2 separate regions of the Homo sapiens genome follow, and region 1 is linked to region 2. Evidence: promoter capture Hi-C in 16 types of primary human blood cells and fetal thymus (Javierre and others, 2016). All regions are on one chromosome and are shown on one strand. The core of a region is centred on a gene start or on the middle of the fragment in contact, and the rest is flanking DNA. Distances in the headings are between cores, read along the strand shown. Region 1 holds the start of TRS-AGA2-2 (tRNA-Ser (anticodon AGA) 2-2). Region 2 holds the start of H4C7 (H4 clustered histone 7).

Evidence for each region. The method cuts DNA at HindIII sites, captures the fragments that hold promoters and counts their contacts. A CHiCAGO score of 5 or more calls a contact.
Region 1: a fragment that was not itself captured here is called in contact with the fragment with the promoter of H4C7 in region 2 in 2 of 17 cell types (naive CD8 T cells and naive B cells); the score reaches 5.6 in naive CD8 T cells.

What each region holds. Positions count from the first base shown.
Region 1 is chr6:27,476,040-27,479,766 of GRCh38, forward strand. It overlaps TRS-AGA2-2 (tRNA-Ser (anticodon AGA) 2-2), which reads left to right and starts at 2,773; the gene lies at 2,773-2,854. It overlaps TRD-GTC2-6 (tRNA-Asp (anticodon GTC) 2-6), which reads left to right and starts at 3,635; the gene lies at 3,635-3,706. RefSeq lists a silencer at 3,688-3,727. The HindIII fragment of the contact is 1,893 bases long and covers 1,317-3,209 here.
Region 2 is chr6:26,245,576-26,249,014 of GRCh38, forward strand. H4C7 (H4 clustered histone 7) reads right to left here and starts at 1,421. Exons shown (of 1, transcript NM_003547.3): 1 at 1,036-1,421. The coding sequence starts at 1,402. The coding sequence ends at 1,106. The HindIII fragment of the contact is 5,476 bases long and covers 1-3,439 here.

The DNA.
Region 1 (3,727 bases), core at 1,013-3,512, 1.2 Mb after region 2:
GAACTATTCAGCACAAAGGAACCAGCACTCATGATTTGGAAAACTTTTAGCCATACCTTATACAAATGAGGCTTTCAATACATGTTGAGGACACAGAAAGATATAATTTTTGTCTTCAGTGACTTCTCTATATGTTGCACAAAGTGGCCTCCAACTCCTGACCTCAAGCAATCCTCCCACCTCGGCCTTCCTAAATGCTGGGGTTACAGTCCATAAGCCACTGAACCCAGCCCTCAGAAACCTTTTGTGCTTAAAAAAACACCTCAGCAAAATACAAAGCAACTAGTGATATATTTGAACTGAAATTACTAATCAACTTTGGCTTGTTTTACTGTAACAATGACTAGGGACTGGCCACAGCTGCAATCTTACTTGTTTTACTGGGCTGAAAACAAAAACATAGTAGAATGGATCTCAGTAAAGGTAGAGAGTCAGGACTTAGTTGCAGGAAACAAAAACCAGTCCAGTTTCTACTTTAGCCCTAAATTGGAAACAAATCAAATGTCCTTCTATACTTAAAAAGGCAAATTGTCAGTTTTTCTTCAAATACAAGGAATACAAAGAAAATACATTTTTTTTCTACAAAGAAAAAAAAGTTAGCTAGGAGTGGTGGTGCATGCTTCTATTCCTAGCTACTCTGGAGGCTGAGGCAGAAGGATGGCTTGTGCCCAAGAGTTCAGGTTACAGTAAGCTATGATGGTGCCACTGCACTCCAGTCTGTGTGATAGAGTAAGACCCTGATTCTAAAATTTTTTTAAATTTCTTAAAAGAGATTTGATATTTCTTTGGTATCTAACTTTATTCAAAGCTGGAGTTGCAAATGATTTCAGCAAAAAAAAATAAAGATGTGCTTGATAAAAATATGTCCACCAAATAAAAAGGATGTGATATGCATTAACTATGAACAACAATCTATAGCACAACTTATATTTGTATGGACACCTGGCTACCCCATCAAACTGCTTCATGTCTATTCCCTCAAATTATGGTCTTCCATAAAACTAGTGAATTTCTTTTAGTCTTCTTTTGAGCCTGTAGGGGTGAGAGAATCTTTTTTCTCCCTTCTGGAGGTTGGATATTTGAGTCTGAGAAATAAAGCTGCTAGTAGACAGATTAACAGAAGAAAAGGCATACACATTTATTATGCACATATGCACAGAGGTCCCAGAAAGTGTAAGTGAGACTCAAAGAAGGGGCAGATGGTTGAAGCTTAAATAGGACTTGGAGCTACATAAAGAAATAGGAGCTTGAAGGCTCCTGGAAGGTGGTGGCGAGAAGCAATGTGAGGGTCAGGGCAGGAACAGCTCTGGGAACAAAGCTTGTCTTATTATACAGATAAAGTCTCTCAAGTAGCAGCCCTCAGAATAGGTGGTGAAGAAAAGAATTGAAGTCTGGCTGGGCGAGATGTCCCGGGCATGGAGACCTTTAGTTTTCTCTCCTGGGATCTGAGTTAATCTTCTCTGGTTAATACAGATTCCAGGAGAGGGTTCATGACAATCTCTTTCCTTCTGGAGGAACCTCCGTAAGTCAAATAAGGGAAACTTCAGTGAAAGCCCCTCCCTGCCATTCAAGAAAGAAAGAGGATCAGGAGGCAGTGGGGCTGCGGAAGGTCAGAGAGACTTTGATTCTGAGGTTGCTTCTTTAGTTCAAAGTACTCAGCACTTCCAAGAGCCATACTTTGGGGTATCATTTTCTGAGCTCTAACAAGGGTCCTCAGAAAATCTCTGTCTCTTCCCTTCCCGGTCTTCCTTCGTTTCTCCTCTTCCTCTTCCTCCTCTTCTTTCTCCTTCATCCTCTTCTTTCTACCTCCTGTCCCTCCTTCCTTTCTCTCTTCTCCTTTCTGGTCACTTTCTTCTTTTCCTCTTCCTTCTTGTCCCTCTTCCTCATTTATCTACTTAGTCGACATGATTTCTTAGCTTGCGATTGTTTCCCTCTTTTCTTAGATTAGTATATGGTTCCAAGAAGTAGATGAAAGCCAATTACAATAATCTGTGCATCCAAAGGGCTCAGGGAAACTCCAGGACCGGCAGCTTTAGACTTCAAGACGGAAGCATAAGAGGAAAAGAAAACATACTGCGTGGGTTAGATTTTGAGAGAAGGAGCGTCTGCCTTGGCCAAAAATCAAAGTAGGATCTTCCTTTTGATAGGTAACCTGGTTCCATGGGAACTCATGAACAATCTATAAATTTCTTTCTTAACCCAACTGAAGCGTGGAAGCGCATTGTGAAATGCAAAATGCCGTGCAAACGAGACCGGGTAGATATACTCCCTTGGGTTGGTGTGAGCCTAGAGACTTAGGGACCTCATCAGAGCAAGAAAGTGCAAGTAGGCTTTTCTGCATCATTTTCTGGCCCTCCAGTTCAGACACAAATCAAAAGTTAGTCCCTTCTTGAAAGCCATTAGCATTCATCAAGGAGCCTCAATGAGAGGAAGTTTCAAACAAAAACTAAATGTGTCAGGCCCAGATTTACGGTGAGGGTCTGATTCCACTTCCTTGCGGGGTCAGTTTGGGTCCAGGTGAGAGAGGTACAGTGGTCTCTAGTTTTCTGGAAACGGTACTGCTGATAGGGCAAGGACTCCTTGCGGCTGCCCCAGAGAGGTTGGCTTGTCTTATCCAACTTGCACTTCACGTTAGAGTTTCTAATGAACTCGCAGACTCCAGTTTCTTGCCCAGGAAACCATTTTTACCGTATTTTGTTCTTTTGACCGTTTCTTGTCAGTTAGCTGGTGTAAATTCTGTTTAAAGATGTGAAGGGAGCCTTCTCCATTCGTGTAGTCGTGGCCGAGTGGTTAAGGCGATGGACTAGAAATCCATTGGGGTCTCCCCGCGCAGGTTCGAATCCTGCCGACTACGGGATGTTTTACTGAGAACAGTTCAGCGAGGAAATAGGATCTCACATTTGCTTTCAGTTTGGGAGTAAAGAAACTCGTGATAGAGCCTCTGCGTGTCACCTAACATAGCCTGAACTTTTGCCGACTTCGGGATGTTTTACTGAGAACAGTTCAGAGAGGAAATACGATGTCATATTTGCTTTCAGTTTGGGAGTAAAGGAACTCGTAATAGAGCTTCTGCGTGCCACTTAACGCAGCCTGAACTTTTGCCGACTTCGGGATGTTTTACTGAGAACAGAGAGGAATCGTATTTACTTCAGAGAGGAAATACGATGTCATATTTGCTTTCAGTTTGGGGGCGAGGGAACTCGTGATAAAGCTTCTGCGTGCCACTTGACGCATCCTGAACTTTAAAAATACATCTGCAGACTCTTTATCTATTTTACCTCAACGGAGCGCAGGTATTGGTCCCACCTCTGCTTTTCCTGTCTTTGAAACCAACCGATGCACCTTTCGGGATTTGTAACTCCTATGTTAGCTAGGGCTCCAACCATGGTTGAACATAGACGGAAACCAGTGCGTCACAAAGGAGGCTAGCGAGAGTTCTTTTTTAAAAGGGTCTGACAAAGCGTCCGAGGAATGAAGGAGGAACTGGAGAGGATTCGCGGTTGGGCGGAGACACGTTCGCTGAATTGCCTTGCGTATATTTGGTAGGGGAAACGTGTGACTACAGAGCAAAGAAAGATGGACAATAGCGAGTAACTTCACAGGGATTTCCTAAGAGCTCCATTTTCACGTCAATTCCTCGTTAGTATAGTGGTGAGTATCCCCGCCTGTCACGCGGGAGACCGGGGTTCGATTCCCCGACGGGGAGGAGGCTTAAACTTTTTTTTAG
Region 2 (3,439 bases), core at 171-2,670:
TTCAGAATAAAACATAACAAAAGATGGGTTTATCAGTCATCCACTACCTACATTCAATAGAGTGGATTTTACCACCATCCGAAAGTAAATGACAGACTCATGAGAATTTACACCTACACACTTCAGCATCTAACCCCTAACAATAAGGGAAATTCCATGTAATCTCAATATATCAAACCTTTCTTTAAAAACTTACTAAAATGACCTGTTATCCAGTTCACGTTCAAGTTTCCTTGATTATCTCCAAAATGCCCTTTAAAACTTTAGAGACAGAATGCAATTAATACATTTAGTTGCTATGTTACTTTAATCTCCTTCAAACTTAAAGTCCTCCAGTTTTTCTCGGTGGCTTTTTGAACAAAGCAATTGTCCCAAATGTTCCACATTCTGGAAGGTTTTTTCCCCCTCTTGAGATGTTTAATTGGCTCTTTGACCCCTGTACTTTCATAAACAGTAAATTGAGACACGAATTATTGCAGTTACACCTTATCAAGGTGTTTCTATATTTACGATGGATCACAAGCAAAGGCACGAAACAGGTAAACTTCTTTTAGTGCTGCTAAATTAGATCATTGAACTAGCAAGGGGGCCAGTCCCTCCACTGCAGACACATTTGTCAGAACGGCACCTGGCAAGTTTGTGCTAATTATTGTGTATTCTCTGGTTATTGAAATTGCTTATTAAGCAGAATATAAAAGTCGGGTTATCTTGGCACTAAAACTACAATTTTAATTACGGAGGGTAATCCTAACAGTAAGGAGAAAAACACACTACCATAACCACATTTTGAGAGCTTTTAAGTGACAATGTAGCCGTTGATGTCCTCAGCCAGCCCACCAGATTTCTAATCTCTGAACACACGATTAACTTACCACCTGTATTCCATGTTGTATGTCAGCCTTGGCGTAAATTTATACTTTACAGCATTATACACCTAACAGCTTTTGGGCACCTACAGCAATAAAACACACAATATTGCTGAGTGCGTTAGTTAAGTTTCCACAATGTCAAACGTGAGCCCTTCGGAAGAAAACGTACGCGGCCCTGAAAAGGGCCATTAACGATATTGCAAGGAAAGGCCTGGCCTCACTTAACCGCCAAAGCCTTACAGGGTTCTTCCCTGGCGTTTGAGCACGTAGACCACGGCCATGGCGGTGACCGTCTTGCGCTTGGCGTGCTCCGTGTTGGTCACGGCGTACCAGATCACATTTTCCAGGAACACCTTGAACACCCGGCGGGTCTCCTCATAAATGAGGCCCAAGATGCGCTTGACACCGCCATGCCGGGCCAAGCGCCGGATAGTGCACTTGGTAATGCCCTGAATATTATCGCTCAGTACCTTGCGATGGCACTTGGCACCGCCTTTCCCAAGGCCTTTTCCGGCCTTGCCCCGAACAGACATGATAAACAAGTCAGAACTATCTCTAAACAAAACGATTACTCGCTTTCCGCAGCCTTTTATATAACGGTAGAGTAGACCTTTTTGAAAACTGAAAGACCAGGAAAGGCGGGAAAACGTATTCAGTCCCCGCTCATCTACTTCTAGTAATAACAAGACATAAGAAATTCTCTTGTAGTAGGGAGATTTGCTGGCATTTAGAGAATAAGGATCTCTAAACGAAAGTGTCAAACATGTACCTAGAGGAAAGTATCTCGATTTTTGATGTCTGTATGTGTTTAAAGATTTACTCCTGGCCGGGCGCGGTGGCTCACGCCTGTAATCCCAGCACTTTTGGAGGCCGAGGCGGGCGGATCACGAGCTCAGGAGATCGAGACCATCCTGGCTAACACGGTGAAACCCTGTCTCTAATAAAAATACAAAAAATTAGCAGGGCGAGGTGGCGGGCGCCTGTAGTCCCAGCTATGCAGGAGGCTGAGGCAGAAGAATGGCATGAACCCCGTGGGGTGGAGCCTGCAGTGAGCCGAGATCACGTCACTGCACTCTAGCCTGGGCAAGGGCGAAGCCCGTCTCAAAAAAGAAAAAAAAAAGATTTACTCCTTCCCTGTATATTAGAGCATTTACCATGCTGAAGTTGAAACAAGCCCAAATTCCAAGACATAAAAGAATTCCTAATCATATTGCCAAGCCGCCCAGCTAAAGAGAAGTAGCCTGGTTTTTGGTTTCGAATCTGTGAGTGACTGCTCTCTCACCGATATTAGACATGTTAATCTGAGTTTCAATGGCCCTATCTGTAAAAAGGGTAAATACTTGTTAATAATTGAGTTACTTTAAGCAAAACACTGGCATATAGTTAGTAAATGATTTTTTTTTAAAATACGGAGTTTCGCTCTTGTTGCCCAGGCTGGAGTGCAATGGCGCAATCTCTGCCCACTGCAACCTCCACCTTCTGGGTTCAAGCTATTCTCCTACCTCGGCCTCCCAAGTAGCTGGAATTACAGGTATGTGCCACCACTCCCGGCTCATTTTTGTATTTTAGTAGAGACCAGATTTCACGTTGGCCAGGCTGGTCTCCAACTCCTGCCCTCAGGTGATCCGCCCGCCTTGGCCTCCCAAAGTGCTGGGATTACAGGCGTGAGCCACCTCACCGGCCAGTTGGTAAACGAATTCTTATTGCCACAGCCTTTTTTTACAGACAAAATAATAATGCAGAGGTAAAGCACACCGAAGGATTTTAAAACATTGCCTTTGCAACACCAATACATTCAGTGTGCTTTCACTTATATTAAGCACTATACAATTAAGCAATGAAGAATTGCCCAGAAAAAAGATAATGTAAATTGCCAGAGGCTCCATGCCCTGTTCTCATGTGGAGGACAGAAGGTACAGGGGGTGACTGTCTTCTGGGGTTGATACAACAGGAAACTCAGGGAAAGCTGTCATAAATGTTAATAGGAGAAAAGGGGAATTTGCTCACAAGCCAAAATAAAGACATAAGCACCACTAAATTTTTACATTACAAAATACTTGCTGAGCTAGTTAAACGAGAGCATTTAAGTGGAAATAAATGATGTCTCTAAAATAGAATGTTCAAAATAACAATGGATTTTTTATTGTGCAGTTACGATGCACCAAACAAACAGTCCTAAAGATCATGGGTTTTTGAAGCAGGGTCAGCAATATCTAAAAAATCATGTAACTGCATAAATGAATTATGGCCTAATGAGCAGGTCACCACAACAAAAAGCCAAGAGTGCAAACAACTATTTGTGGGGAAAACAAACAAACAAACTTGATAAACCATGGAATTCCAAGCAATAAAAGCAGCAATCCCATCACAGCCTATTTCTACATTATTTTGAAATAATTAGATTTTTTTTTTTTTTTTTTTTTTTTTTTTTTGAGGCGGGGTCTCACTCTGTAGCCCAGGCTGGAGTGCAGTGGCACGATCCCGGCTCACTGCAACCTCCACCTCCCAGGTTCAAGTGATTCTTCTGCCTCAGCCTCCCTAGTCGCTGGGATTACAGTTGCCTGCTACCA